Regions from separate parts of the Homo sapiens genome. Here regions 1, 2, 3 and 5 are each linked to region 4. The links are contacts of gene promoters, found by promoter capture Hi-C in blood cells and fetal thymus (Javierre and others, 2016). All regions are on one chromosome and are shown on one strand. The core of a region is centred on a gene start or on the middle of the fragment in contact, and the rest is flanking DNA. Distances in the headings are between cores, read along the strand shown. Region 1 overlaps MAPKAPK2 (MAPK activated protein kinase 2). Region 2 overlaps IL19 (interleukin 19). Region 3 overlaps MAPKAPK2 (MAPK activated protein kinase 2). Region 4 holds the start of CD55 (CD55 molecule (Cromer blood group)). Region 5 has its middle 12 kb from the start of IL19.

The links. Contacts are between HindIII fragments. The CHiCAGO score rates a contact against its expected background, and 5 or more counts as called.
Region 1: a fragment that was not itself captured here is called in contact with the fragment with the promoter of CD55 in region 4 in 1 of 17 cell types (megakaryocytes); the score reaches 5.6 in megakaryocytes.
Region 2: a contact is called between a fragment that was not itself captured here and the fragment with the promoter of CD55 in region 4, in 1 of 17 cell types (naive CD4 T cells). The highest score is 5.3, in naive CD4 T cells.
Region 3: a contact is called between a fragment that was not itself captured here and the fragment with the promoter of CD55 in region 4, in 1 of 17 cell types (neutrophils). The highest score is 5.2, in neutrophils.
Region 5: a contact is called between a fragment that was not itself captured here and the fragment with the promoter of CD55 in region 4, in 1 of 17 cell types (total CD8 T cells). The highest score is 5.2, in total CD8 T cells.

The regions. Positions count from the first base shown.
Region 1 is chr1:206,715,339-206,718,038 of GRCh38, reverse strand. The region is part of intron 1 of MAPKAPK2 (MAPK activated protein kinase 2); the gene reads right to left. Among named protein-coding and RNA genes, the nearest start is that of MAPKAPK2, 32 kb to the right of the region's middle. The HindIII fragment of the contact is 1,256 bases long and covers 740-1,995 here.
Region 2 is chr1:206,802,359-206,805,058 of GRCh38, reverse strand. The region is part of intron 2 of IL19 (interleukin 19); the gene reads right to left. Among named protein-coding and RNA genes, the nearest start is that of IL10, 31 kb to the right of the region's middle. RefSeq lists an enhancer at 1,832-1,881. The HindIII fragment of the contact is 353 bases long and covers 1,254-1,606 here.
Region 3 is chr1:206,689,228-206,691,927 of GRCh38, reverse strand. All of the region lies in intron 1 of MAPKAPK2 (MAPK activated protein kinase 2), which reads right to left. Among named protein-coding and RNA genes, the nearest start is that of MAPKAPK2, 5.7 kb to the right of the region's middle. The HindIII fragment of the contact is 2,020 bases long and covers 328-2,347 here.
Region 4 is chr1:207,320,363-207,323,062 of GRCh38, reverse strand. CD55 (CD55 molecule (Cromer blood group)) reads right to left here and starts at 1,385. Exons shown (of 10, transcript NM_000574.5): 1 at 1,198-1,385; 2 at 496-681. The coding sequence starts at 1,297. LOC107985251 (a long non-coding RNA gene) reads left to right here and starts at 934. Exons shown (of 3, transcript XR_007066838.1): 1 at 934-1,377. RefSeq lists a silencer at 1,110-1,189 and an enhancer at 1,750-1,959. The HindIII fragment of the contact is 4,328 bases long and covers 581-2,700 here.
Region 5 is chr1:206,757,538-206,760,237 of GRCh38, reverse strand. No RefSeq gene overlaps it. Among named protein-coding and RNA genes, the nearest start is that of IL19, 12 kb to the left of the region's middle. The HindIII fragment of the contact is 3,786 bases long and covers 1-2,700 here.

The DNA.
Region 1 (2,700 bases), core at 118-2,617, 610 kb after region 4:
CTATAGTTTTGTTGTTATTGTTTTGTTTTTTAGGGAAGAGGGGAGAGGATATATGAAATTGTAGATGTTTAAGTTTTTTTCTGGAGGAATTTACCTCCCCTGCAAAAAAAAGGTAGCAGTGTTGACTACTGGGGAATAGGTACTAGAGAGAGGCGTGTATTTTTTTTTCTTTCTGTTTTATATCTCTATGTATTGTTTGAACCTTTACCATCTGAATGAAATTTTTTAAAAAAAATTAAGTAAAAGGGTTTGGGTTCTGAGGTGCAGTATGATTCAGGTCTTATATTTGAACCCCTGGCCTGAGACAGTGACAGAGATGTGCCCCAAATGTAGGCCAACCTTCCTGCTAGAGGCAGGAGAGCACAGATGAGAAATTTCACACTGGCCACAGGAGGAAGAGAGGCCTTGCATAACTCTAGGTCAGAGGCCACACTTGACCAGGCCTGGCATCTTCCCAGAGGATGTAACCCTAAGAATTGATAAGGAGCGAGCAGAGGCCCCAAAGCCCCAAACCACTGCTGCAAGCCACTTCTGACTTATATGGACATGAACACTGCACACAGCAGTGATGTCAACCACACAGGAGTCTTGGGTAGGAAACTGAAAGATGGGGACAGAGATATTTCTTCTGTTTCTTCCAGCAAATGGCACTGAAAGAGAAAGAGGAATTTTCATTTCAACCGCATCAATTATGTACCAGGTGCACTTTATATATAGCAAATATTGCTATATTTAAGCTTCCTAGCAGCCCTACAGAACAGGATCCATTGCTGACTCCATCGTACAGGTGCGGCAACCAAGGCCCAAGGAAGTATTAATAATTTGCCCAAGGCCACATGGCTAGTAGGTAATAAAGCCAGGACTCAGACCCAATTCAGATCTAACCTTTTATTCACAGCAAAGGAGGCTTTGACAAATAAACCCTGAGCTGGTAATATTAGTTTACCGCTGGCCTCTCTCGTCCCCTCCTAAGTGACTCGTCTTTGCTCTGTTCACAGGCCTGCCCTATTCGCATCAGGCCTGGGGCCAGAGCCCAGTAGAGAAGAGTCACAATAAACACTTACCAATTAAATGGGCAGACTGTACACCAGAACAAGATACAAGGCATCTTTCCCTAGGAGACCAGGCAGACAGTGGTAGGAAGGAAACACCCTAAATGTTCCAAGTTGGCTTTAAGCTAAAATCCAAGTGGCAAGAAGAGAAAGATCATGTTCTTAGTAGTATCTAGGTATCTAGTATCTACTTTAAAAAATCCACAGAGATGGACAAACTAGCAAGAGAAAGTAAGACGGAAGGAGGTCAGGAACACTGCGCCTCTGGCCTAAGCAGCCCCCATGCATACGACCCTGTGCGGCTGCCAAAGCAAATCTAAAATTTTACTTTGAAGCGACAAAAGCAATCTCACCTTCATCACCCCAGCTGAGCAGAATGAGACTCACAGCAACGTATACCTGAGTCCACAGATCTCACAGGGGGTGGAGGAGAGTTGACAGAGAATGTGGAGGAAGAGAAGGATCCTACAAATCAAGAGGGCGGCCCACACACACACATCCCCCACCCAGTACACAATTCCACACGCCTAAGACTGGAGACAACTGGGTGAGGAGAGAAGGAAAAAGAACCGGAAGATAGATGATTGTTATGGTGACACACAGCAGACTACATGGCCAGGGAGAAGACAGGAACCACTCTTTCCTACACAGTGAGAGAAATGGCCCAGACACAAGAGTGAGTTCAAGCCACCAACACAAACACAAGGTCACTGTGAGAGAGAAGTCGAGGTCATGCCTTCTGCTACGAGCAGGGCACCTGATAAATAAATTCTCACTCTACATTACCTCTCACACAGCTGAAGATACAAGGAAGGGAACTATTACCCTGAACTTACTTCTGGCCAGGAAGAAAAACCTAGTAAATTATGTTTAAAAAAAAAAAAAATACTTCAGCTAGCAAAAACAATAATAACAAGAACACCACATTGGGAGGAAGTAAGCTTGTCAATTCAGAGTTCAAAGGAGGGAAATTAAAAAAAAAAAAACTGAGACAAAAACAGTTGTTTAGCCTAGACTTCAAAAAAACCAATATTCAGGTCAGGCGCAGTGGATCACACTGAAATCCCAGCACTTTGGGAGGCTGAGGCAGGAGGATGGCTTGATGACTAAGAGGATACAAAAAGGAGAAGGAGGAGTTCAAGACCAGCCTGGGCAACACAGGGAGACCCCGTCTCTATGAATAATTTAAAAAATTAGCAGGGCATGGTGGCACTAGCCTGTGGCCCCAGCTACTCAGGAGGCTGAGGCAGGAAGATCACTGAGCCCAGGAGGTCAAGGCTGCAGTGAGCCAATGATCGTACCACTGCACTTCAGCCTGGGCAACAGAGTGAGACCCTATCTCAAAAAAAAAAAAAAAGAAAGAAAGAAAAAGAAAAAAAAAACCAATATTTAGATGTTGAGACCAAGGAGTATGATGGGCAGAGATCCCAAAAGGGAATGCATTTTGAAAGACAAGGTCCAAGTCTCTAAAAAGTGAATTCTGATCATCTAAAACACAATAATCGCTTAAAGAAGAAACCAGGAGGAGGCAGCCACAAATGTCAGGGAGAAGTGAAGAGCTGAGACAGTAAAGGATGTGTGCAAAGACACGAGCAACTGCCCATGAGCCAGGACAGGCCCGAAGGGAGTAGTCTGCGCTCACTAAACA
Region 2 (2,700 bases), core at 181-2,680, 520 kb after region 4:
GAGCCAGGTATGCAGACAGCAGGTAGCAGGTGATCATTTAGTGCTTGAATGATCAGAACAGTGTCCACAGAGGATCCAAGGATTGAAAGGAACTTCAAAGAAGGGTATGATTTAGAAAGGAAGGAGTCTGGTGGATTCTTCTAAAGAGCATTTCTCTGGGATTCAGATAATTTCACCCATGCAGTTAGCACCCATTCTATCCTTGAAAGATACAGCTGCTCTTCCTATAAGGTAAGAGAATTTCAGGTTTGAACAGAGAATTTTAGATTGAAAAATTCAAGCCCATTTTCTATTCTTCCACCCGCAAACAAAGGTGCGGAAAGCAGTTGAGGAAACAGGCTGAGGTGAGTTTCCTTGAAGCCTTGCTCTCTTGCATCTCTGTTTGATCCCTGGGTCATTCCCTCAGGCATCTCTGGTCAGAAACACTTTTAAACCCCAAATCTCATTCTCACTGGGTTTGCATTGTACCTGGAAAGATGCTGACACCAATAAAAGCTTGTTGCTTAAAGACACAGCCTATGACTCACACAATGCACACTTTATACACCCTAATTCCTTCCATCTGTAGTAACTTTCAGCTTCTCATTACCTAAATTATTTCAGTGCACTCAACCTGGGGGTTATTGTCATATAGGGAATCAAATGAGGTGCCAGAAACAGATAAAAATCAAGAAAACAACAATTTGAAAAGGTTATCATTGGCATCAGGGAATGTCTGTGTTGGAAAGGATCTCCAGGTTCATTAGCCCCCACTCCCAGCACAGGAACCCTCTTTGTCATGACTCGGACAGATGTTATCCAATTCTGCTTCATGACTTTCAAGACCTGGGTGCCACATTCTGCAGTTGTCATCTGCAAACTTGATAGGCAGGTGAATGTGGCAAGCAACCCATATTTAAATATACCTGAAGCCCTCCTGGAATTTACACAGCTACATCTTTCCCTGTACTGCCCTGCAAGAAGCGTGAGAGAAGAAGCTCTTCTGAGCCTCCTGCCTGTTACAGAGAGCAAGAAAGGGAAGGGAAGAGACAGGGCGAAGAGAGAAAGGATTACTTGATATTGTAGTGTTCAAGCTGGAATAATTTTCCCTCCCACCTTGCTGGAGTGCTTTCCAAGTGCTATTTCCTAGAGCAATGCCAGATTAGTTGTTCCAGAATTCCCAGGGGGCTTTGCACAGAGTCCCAGACCCTGTCCCTGAGAGTTGAATTTTGTACATCTGGGATGAAGCCTGGGCATCTCTATTTGTTAAAGCTTAGGATTATTTTGAAGTGCAGTCAGTTTGAAAGTCACTTTATTAGAGGGCTCTGGACTAGGTCACCCCATTCCTGGTGGTTGAAAAACCTCATTGCAAGCAGATCACTCCTATGTCCTCCAGCAGTTTTCTGTAAGCATGTTTTTGTGTTGCTGAAGGCAGCCCCATCAGCCCCCAGGGGAATAATCCTTTCCTGTTCTCTCCAGCCATGCTCTGTAGGATCACCTGAGGCCTGTGTCTGGGCCTCTTTATCGCAGCACAGTACAAGCATCCAGCTTGTACTCTTTGTTGTGGGCTGGCCAAGATGCTGACAGGAACAAAAATGACTTGTTTTTGAGAGTAAAGATACAAGCTTTGACTCAGATGACGCACACATGTTCATGGAGGGAGACTCTCACATCCGACCTACCTTCTTCCGTCCACAGAGAGTCACGTTGCTACTCTAACCACATCACTAATTCCGAAAGATGGGGACTCCTACACAGGGCCTCCAGGTCAATGCCTCTGATTAGGGCAGGGAACTGGAAGGCATCCAACCCCGACTTCCTGGCACCCCAAGTTCTCTCAGCAGCAACAGCGAAAGCCCATGGATGTAACTGCATTACAGAAGCCAAGGCCCTCAATGTGTAGACTCTCTGGGGTGCTATTTTAAAAGGCAGACTCTCAAGCCCCACAAAAAGATGTTTTGAAGATTGGAGTGAGGCCAGAAAATCCACCTTTTGAGCAAGCAGGACTAGGGAATTCTGAGTAAGACTAGTATTTGAACTTTACCCATTTGGGACTGAACCTCAAAGGAAAAAAGGGATCTGGAAAAGGAAATGACGTCCCCCTCGCCCTTCCAGGGCCACAGCTGCTTCTGTTCTTGAGATATTGGCCAGGCCCCTTATTTCTTTGACATTCCCCTTGCTTTCCTGTCCCCTCGTCTTCCTTAACAGTCCTTCTTATCTGCCAGAAGATTGGTCTTTCTTTAAGGCTAGCAGTTAGCCTTGATTGGGGATCCAGTTCTATACATGTGGGCATAGAGGACAGAGCAAGAAGACAGGACAAGTGAGCAGAACTATACAGGGAAGGGAGGGACAGTGTTGGAAGAGAAGCCCAGGCTTGGAACTTGCCCATGGCAAAAAAAAAAGAAAAAAAAAATTGAAAATTTGTACCCTCATTATGTCACCAGGAATTGAAATTAAGTATGACTCACGATTTACCCATGAAGCTCTTTCCCAATTAGTCTGGGTTGTGTCACCAAAAGACCTGAATTTAAGTCATGACTCCATCACTTATTGGCTTCGTGATCTTGGGAAAATTATTGAACTCTCTGACATTTAGTTTCCTTATCTGTAAAATAGGGGTAATCGCTTGATAAAGGTGCTGTTCGTTTTGATGAGGTAATATATAAAAATGCTTAGCCCAGGTTTTGGTACATGGAAGGCAGAAAAAAAAACCACCCAGAT
Region 3 (2,700 bases), core at 88-2,587, 630 kb after region 4:
ACTTTCTAAGTCTTCACACAAGAGAAGGAGCAGCTGGTCAGTGATGATTATTCATTAACTGGACACAGGCTGCCCTGGAGCCAGGCACTAAGCTTACGAAAGGGCATCTGTGCTGACCCAGATACTGCTGATGGTCAGACCCGGAGCAAGTCAGCAAGCTATCCTGCCTGCCCTCCACCTCTGGCCTGCAGCACCGCCTTCTACTGCCTCACCCTGCCGGTGCTCAGGAGCTGCTCGAGCCGACCCTCTGTGCAATGAGGCCTGGAAAGTTTAGCTGACCTATTCAAGGTCATGTAACTTGTTAGCAGCATACAAACACTGGAAGCTTTCTATTTATGTATGCACTTATTTTTGCTTTCTTATCTAGCACATAACCCATGGTAACAAGCTCATCTCTACATATCTATATCTGTGTATGTGTGTATATATATATATATATATATATCTTAAAATACAAAATACCAGTATTTTCCTAAAAACTAGAAAAGGTACACAGCAATCTGATTTGGGTTCTATAACTGCCATACGTTATTACACTGTCCAGTGACATGGCCCCTTCTCTTCACCAATGCCCCCATTTACAAGGTAACCCATGTGGAAAGATCCTAGCTGATGCGTTAGTGGAGCTCAGTTTTGCTCCACCAGGTCTACAGTCTTCTAGCAACCAAAAACCAAAGGGGCCCAGACCAAGAGCAGGTCCCAGGGAACCAGGTCTCAAGATGTGGCTCGGATGCTGACACCATGTAAGACCTTGGACATGCCACTGAACATTTCTGCACTAGGCCAGCTTCTTCCTCAGTGATGTGCAAGGAGTCAAGAAAGATGACCAGGGAGTGTGGGTTCTAAGTTACTATGAAGTGTGGGTTGCTTTGCCACTGGGCCTCAAACCATTACCAAGAAAAGCTGCAGTCCCTGCAAAGAACAACTCTTCTCTGCCCATCCACCTCCCTCCAGGACACAGAACCATCTGGAAAGATACAGTGCAGGGAAGAGGGGGAAAAGAGACCTCACATGACACTTGGCAGGGCCTGAAGTAGAGGAAAGGTAGGAGAATAGAGTGAATCCTGCACCACAGACATCACGCCACCAGGAAGAACCCCAGCTCAGAGCATGGCAAGGCTGCTTGGGAACTGGGCAATGGCTCAGATGCAGACGACTGTGCCCTGCTCTTCCCCATCTTGGCTGACATTCCTCCTGGCACCCACTCAGCACACTCCTGGGCTCTGGCTAACAGGAGCTTTGGCCCCTCCCCTAGCCCAAGGATTAAGTTTGCCTCCAGCAGTTCTGAGGCTGGGCTCTTCCAGGCCCTCCTCCCAATCCCCTGTACCTGCTTCATAAGAAAAATCATCAATTATGGATGGCCCAACCTCTCAGGTCCCAAGTAGCAGAAACATCACAGGTCCCAATACCTTCCTCCTCCCACAAAGGGGTTCTTTTGTTTCCTAGACACCCACCAATATTTGGCCCTAAGGCCCAGGGACTGCTTGTCTCTCCCCTCCTGTCAGCCACTGATCCCGTATCTTAGCTGGAGATTGTCTCCAAGCTCAGTCAAAGCCCAGAATTCACAAGTAAAAAAGGACAGTGAGCTGACCCAGCTTCAATCTTGCCTCAGTGGATGCCAAGGGCCCTGCTGCAGGAGCCAGGGGTCAGGGCTGGGGTCAGGGCTACGGCCAGGAGGGACAGGATCTCTGAAACCACAAACCTGACCCTTCCCTCATAATTCTGTAAGCCCATCTTCAATGATTCCTAACCTTTTTTGACACCTTCATGCCCCTCAAACACTTTAAAGCCTGCTTTGACACAAGATGAGTTAGCTTCAATTTGGAGCCACCAACCCCTGACCACTCTGACCTCCTGTTCCTCCCCTCAGTTCTAGCCAGGCCAATGTCACCACACCTCTCACAGACTTGCTCACTCCTCAGAGGCACAGCCATGTCCCACTGACCCCAGCTGGAGCCTCCCTTAGCTCCTGGAGTCACCACAGATTCCCCTCTTTCAAAGCTCCTCTATTCCCAGCCACACGATTTAGCTCCCAGACCAACAAAGTCTAGGAGAACGTTCTGCAAGGATGAAAATGTTCTTCTGCATTGTTCAATTCGATAGCCATTAGCCACATGTTTACTGAACACTTGAAGTGTGGCTAGCAACTGATTTTTCAAATTTAATTTAGTTTAATCCATTCATGTTAATTAATTTTAATTTAATTAGCTATGTGAGGGTAGTGGCTACCAGATTGGACAGTGCAGCCCTAGCCTACATGTGTTAATTTCACCTTCTCTAAATAAGTTTCTTGACTCAAAATTTTACAGGCCATTTTTTACATGTGTATCCTCCATGCAACTAAGCTTATGATAGATATTCAGCAAACTGTTACCTACCTGTAACCATATTGCATATAAAAGAGGCTGGCTTGGTCAATGAAATTTTCCTAACCTTGTGACAACTCCAGCAAACTCCAGTTTGGGACACTGCCTCTCACCTAGCCACACTAACTGTCTTGCCCTCCACAGGTACACAGTATGAGGTGTGTTGGAAAGGAGATGGTGCCTGTACTGTGGGGATGTGGGAGCTCTGGCATTTCCCTCCAACAGCATCCAGAATAATCATGAGAGGCTCCAATCATCTCCCCTTCACCAGAACAAAGGAAGCCACATCGCAGTGGCACTTCCATGACCTAGGGAGAGAGGAATGCTGGAGAAA
Region 4 (2,700 bases), core at 136-2,635:
ATCCAATTACCCTGATTGATCATGACACACTGTATGCATGTGCCAGAATATCACATGTACCCTATAAATATGTACAAGTATAACAGATTTTGAAGTAAATATTGAGAGCTTTTAAAAATGCCACCACAGAGTTGTATTTGGTAAGTCCTACTTTATAAAATACTTAAGAAAACATATCATTTACGCTATGTGTCTCAAGGCAATTGCCAAATATATTTTATATGTTTACTCCCTAAACAATACCTATTGTTTATTTTCTCTACTAGTTCGTTCAAGAGGTACAGTGTTAGGAAGAAAAACTCTTAATGAAGCAGCAGGACCTACTCAGGGTGGTAAATGTCTTCAATTAGCTGGAGTGTGACGTGCCAACAGGGTATACCCTGGGGTTTAGTAACGCTAGAGAACTATCAATTACTAGTCACTCCAAAGGTATATAAAAATAAATTTAAGATACATTCCATTCCCAGAACTTTTCTAAAAAGATGAAGAACTTACGATTGCAGAACTCTTCAATATCTGACCATTGACTGCCCTTAAGGCAGATCACTGAGTCCTTCTCGCCAGGAATTTTCACAAAGCTTTCTTCACATTTGTACGTTATTACAGTATCCTCGGGAAAACTTGTACGGCCTTCCAAAGCTGGCTGGGCATTAGGTACATCTGGGGGAAGGCCACAGTCACCTAGGGAGACAAAAGCAGAACTGAAGGAAATGACTATCAAGTGTCCTCACAGTTGCTGTTTTCAAGACACAAGCCCCCTTGAAATGCCACACCTGAAAGAGATGACATGCAAGTTTGCAGCATCGTGTGCTCCACACGGCTGGACTCTGTCGAGAGTGGGGAACGGTCAGCGGTCTGGCCTCCCATCCTTTTAGACCAGCTTTTTGGGGGTTAAGGATACAGTCTCTTTGAGCCCTCCCTTTCGATTTTGCCAGGCTTGGCTGCTCCGCAAACCCAGCCGGGGCCTCTTTAACCCTCCACGCCGACCCCTAAAGCCAAGTCAGCTGGGGGCCGACACAGCAGGAGCCCCAAATGCTGGTGAGCGGCGAGAGCCTTAAAGGCACAGGACGGCGGGAACCACGACCGCGGGCCAAGCTCCCCACCTGCCAAGTCGCCGGCCCCTGTGCGTGTCTCAGAGACCGACTTGGACCTCCCACCCAGCCCAGGGGCTTCCCCGGCCGCCGGGCCCCTACTCACCCCACACGGCCGGCAGGCACAACAGCACCAGCAGCAGCAGCCGGGGCAGCTCCCCGAGGAGGGGCAGCGCCGCGGGCACGCTCGGCCGCGCGACGGTCATGGCGCGCCGGGTTAGAACAAGGACGCGCCGCCGGGACTCCGCCGAGTCGCAGCTACGCCCAGCGGCCGGAGCGAGTTGCAGTAAGCAGAAGCCTCGTGGCTCCGCAATACCAGTTAAATGAGTGCTTTGGGCGGGGTCTGGGCTGGGGCTCTGCGTCACCAAGGGTGGGACAAACAAGACGGGTGGAGTAGGGGTTTGTTGTGGTCAGAGGTGCGGTCAGAGGGCTCCGGCGTCATACGCCCCGGGGGCCCTAGACTCGGGGAGAGTGGGGAGGGGAAGGAGGAGGAGCTCGCTGGCAACACCCTCTGGGACTCACTCTCTCCACTGCTGGGTGGGGCCTGCGATGACCTGCCTTCTAGAAACCTAAATATCTCCTCGCTACGTAAACACAAACGGGGTGTAAACGGGAGAGGGGGAGGGGTGCTCAAGTATCGCAGGCCTTGCTGCCCGCACGTGAGTTCGTCTAAGCGGAGCATCCCCGCGCTTGAGTGCTGCCAAGGGGACCTGCAGGTGCGGTGGAGTTCGGGGGCTGAGACTCAGGCGCTGAGACGCGGTGCTCTACCCGCGTCTTGGGCCCTCTACTGGGAGGTCTGTCAAAGGCCAGCACGAGGGTGGGGAAATAACTAAGGAGGAAGGGCGTCATCTCCTAGAACACTCTCTAATGTGAAAACAGAGACCTGGGGAAACAGGTTGAATAACACAGTAGGGAGTGAACATTGTTCATGCCTTGTTCGGGTGGGAGTCATTTTCTTCACCCGGGTTCTCCTTATTTACGAAAGACACCACTTTGGGATTACTCCAGACTGACTGTAGAGAGAAATTCACCAGTGTGCGTGTGTGTATGTGTGTGTGTGTGTGTGTGTGTGTGTGTGCGCGCGCGCGCGCGCGCCTCGGGGCGGTGTGGGGTGGGATAACAATAAAAACAAACAGACCCCAAAACGCTGAATGGTGGTGGGGTGGATTTTAAGAGGAAGGCTTGTTACAAACCCTTTAGAATAAATAGCCTGAGGTTTGCAAGACTGGCCACACATTAGAATCACGTGGGGAGCTTATATATATATTTATATTTATATATTCATATATATTTATACATATATAAATATATATTCTTTAAGTTCTGGAATACATGTGCAGAACATGCAGGTTTGTTACATAGGTATACACGTGCCATGGTGGTTTGCTGCACCCATCAACCCAACATCTACATTAGGTATTTCTCCTAATGCTATCCCTCCCCTAACCCCCACCCTCCAACAGGCCCCCGTGTGTGATGTTCCCCTCCCTGTGTCTGTGTATTCTCATTGTTCAACTCCCACTTATGAGTAAGAACATGCAGTGTTTGGTTTTCTGGTCTTATGTTAGTTTGCTGAGGTTGATGGTTTCCAGCTTCATCCATGTCCCTG
Region 5 (2,700 bases), core at 124-2,623, 560 kb after region 4:
TTTTTTTTTTTTTTTTTTTTGGAAAGGAGTCTCCAAACCTCTGGCTTGGAGGCAAGCCAAGCCAGAGGTTTTACAAGATACACACTTATTCACTCAGAACTTATTATGCTCCAGGTACTATGCTGGGTGTCGAAGAAAAAGCAGTGAATAAGACAGACATAATCCTTGCCCTCGTGGATTTCTTTTAATTTTTTAAATAGAGATGGGGGTCTCACTATGTTGCCCAGGCTGGATTTGAACTCCTAGGTGCAAGTGATCCTCCTTCCTCAGCCTCCCACCAATCCTGGCTCCAGCTACACGGATTTAATAGCTAGTTGAGGAAACAGATATTATAAAGTTAACTATATAATGTTATTATAATCATGATTATTTCTATTAATTAGAAGTGTGAGATTTCAGAAAGCAACTAACCTAGACTCAGGGCTAGGGGATGCTTTCATGAGATGGTAACATTCAACTGGACATGAAGGATGAGCAGGAGCTGGCCCAATGAAGAGAGAGGTGGTAAGAAGCAGAGCATTTTGCAGATTTAAAGACCACTAAGAACAGCAAAGAACGGGGGAGAAGGGGTTTATCTCTGGAGCAAAGGTAAATTTGTACCAATTCACGACCCAGCTGGACCCTGGGCTCTCTTCACAGCTCTCTGACTTCTCCATCCCATCTCATGTTCTGAGGCCCTGAGGCAAGAAGAAACTTAAACTCTTTGAGAAACTAAAAGATGAATCACAGAGAGTAAGGGACATTATATGTGATGGGGAGAGATTTAAGACGAGCTTGAAGAAGTGGGCATGGGTCTGATCACTCAGGGATGGTAGGCTATGGTCAAAAATTTAGACTCTAAGAGCAAAGGGAAGCCATTGAAGGCTATTAAACAGAGAGGATAATATATACCTTCTGTATGAGACCATTTAGGAGCCATTTGCTTCCAGTCCAGACAGGAAGAAATTGTGTTCTGGACTAAGGTGGTAATAAACAGGAATTGAGAGAAGTGCAAGGTTTCAAATAGTCTGCAATTATTTAGGTCAGAATGGTGAGAGTGGGCGACGGCCAAGGTGAACCCTCATCTCTTGTCTGAGCAGCTGGGTGGAGAAGCAGCAAGTTTGAAGGGGAAGGTGATCTGGTCTACACTGGTCCTGCTGAGTTGGAGGTGCCTCTGAGTCTTTAAGTGAAAATATACACGTGGTCAGATGGACATCAAGATTGAGTCTGGAGATCACTATGTGGGGGTCATTGATACAAAGATGGTGAGTAAAATCGTGGGAGTGGGTAAGATTACCAAGGGAAAACAGTGCAGAATGGAAGAGAAGAGAGCCCAGAACCAAGCTCCGAAGAACCCAGATATTCATAAGCCAGAGCAGGAGAAGCTGTCAAAGAGACTCATTAAAGAGTGGCCTGAGCGATAAAAAGAAACACCAGAAGAGAGTGGCATCCCTGAGGACAAGGAAAGAAACTATTTCGAGAAAGAGAATGGTCAGCTAGATCAAATGCTATCAAAACGTCAAGTAAAATCAAGGCAAAAGAGCCCCTAGTGCATGGAACACATGAAAGGCACTGTTGATTTTATCAAGAAGAGCTGTAAGGATGTAGAGCTGTAGGGATGTAGAGCGGTAGGGATGGAAGACGGATGGTTGCACATGAAATAGGAGGTGAAAAAATGGGGTGGCTCATGCCTGCTATACCAGCGTGGTGGCTTACGCCTTCAATCCCAGCACTTTGGGAGGCCAAGGCAGGCAGATCATCTGAAGTCAGAAGTTCAAGACCAGCCAGCCTGGCCAACATGGTGAAACCCCATCTCTACTAAAAATACAAAATTTAGTCGGGTGTGGTGGTGCACGCCTGTAATCCCAGCTACTCGGGAGGCTGAGGTGGGAGAATCGCTTGAACCAGGGAGGTGGAAGTTGCAGTGAGCCAAGATCATGCCATTGCACTCCAGCCTGGGTGACAGAGCAAGACTCCATCTCAAATAATAATAATAGGATGACAAGCGTGGACAACTGTTTCAAGACATTGGGCCAGGAGAGGAGAAGAAGAAGTTGAAGACAGAAGAGTGAGATGGGAGAACTGATGAAGTCAGGTTACTCAGAAAGCAGGACGGGGTGGGATGCAGGCAGAGCAAAGAACTACCTTTGAAATGAAGAGGGCACCTCCTCTGAATAATAACAGGAAGAAAGTAGAGACGGTGGGTACAGAAGCAGGTTGGTTTGAAGAATCGTTGGCAGGAAGTTGAGGTTAATTTCATCAGATGACTTATATTTACTCTTAAGAGAATGAATAAGGAGAGAATGCAGGGCGGTTTAAGGAGAGAAACAAAGGTTTGAAATGATGTTTGCAGAGACACGGAAGACAAACGACTCTAGAGAAATGTAGTAGATTCCCAGGCAGTGTTGAGCTCAGTTGAGGTAGGTGATCATGAATTGAAATGGTCTGCCAGACTATATCATTTTTCTCAGGATTCTTTTGGCAGCCGGGGGAGCAATACATAGAAGGCAGAATTGTTTTGCCCCGTGAGTATAACAAAAAGACGAGGAGGAGGAGTTGAGAGTACAAGTGTACCTCATTTTATTACACTTCACTTTATTGTGCTTTGTAGATAATGCAGGGTTTTTTCATAAATTGAAGGTTCGTGGCAATCCATGACGAGCAAGTCTATCGACACTATTTTTCCAACAGCATGTGCTCACTTTGTGTCTCTGTGTCACA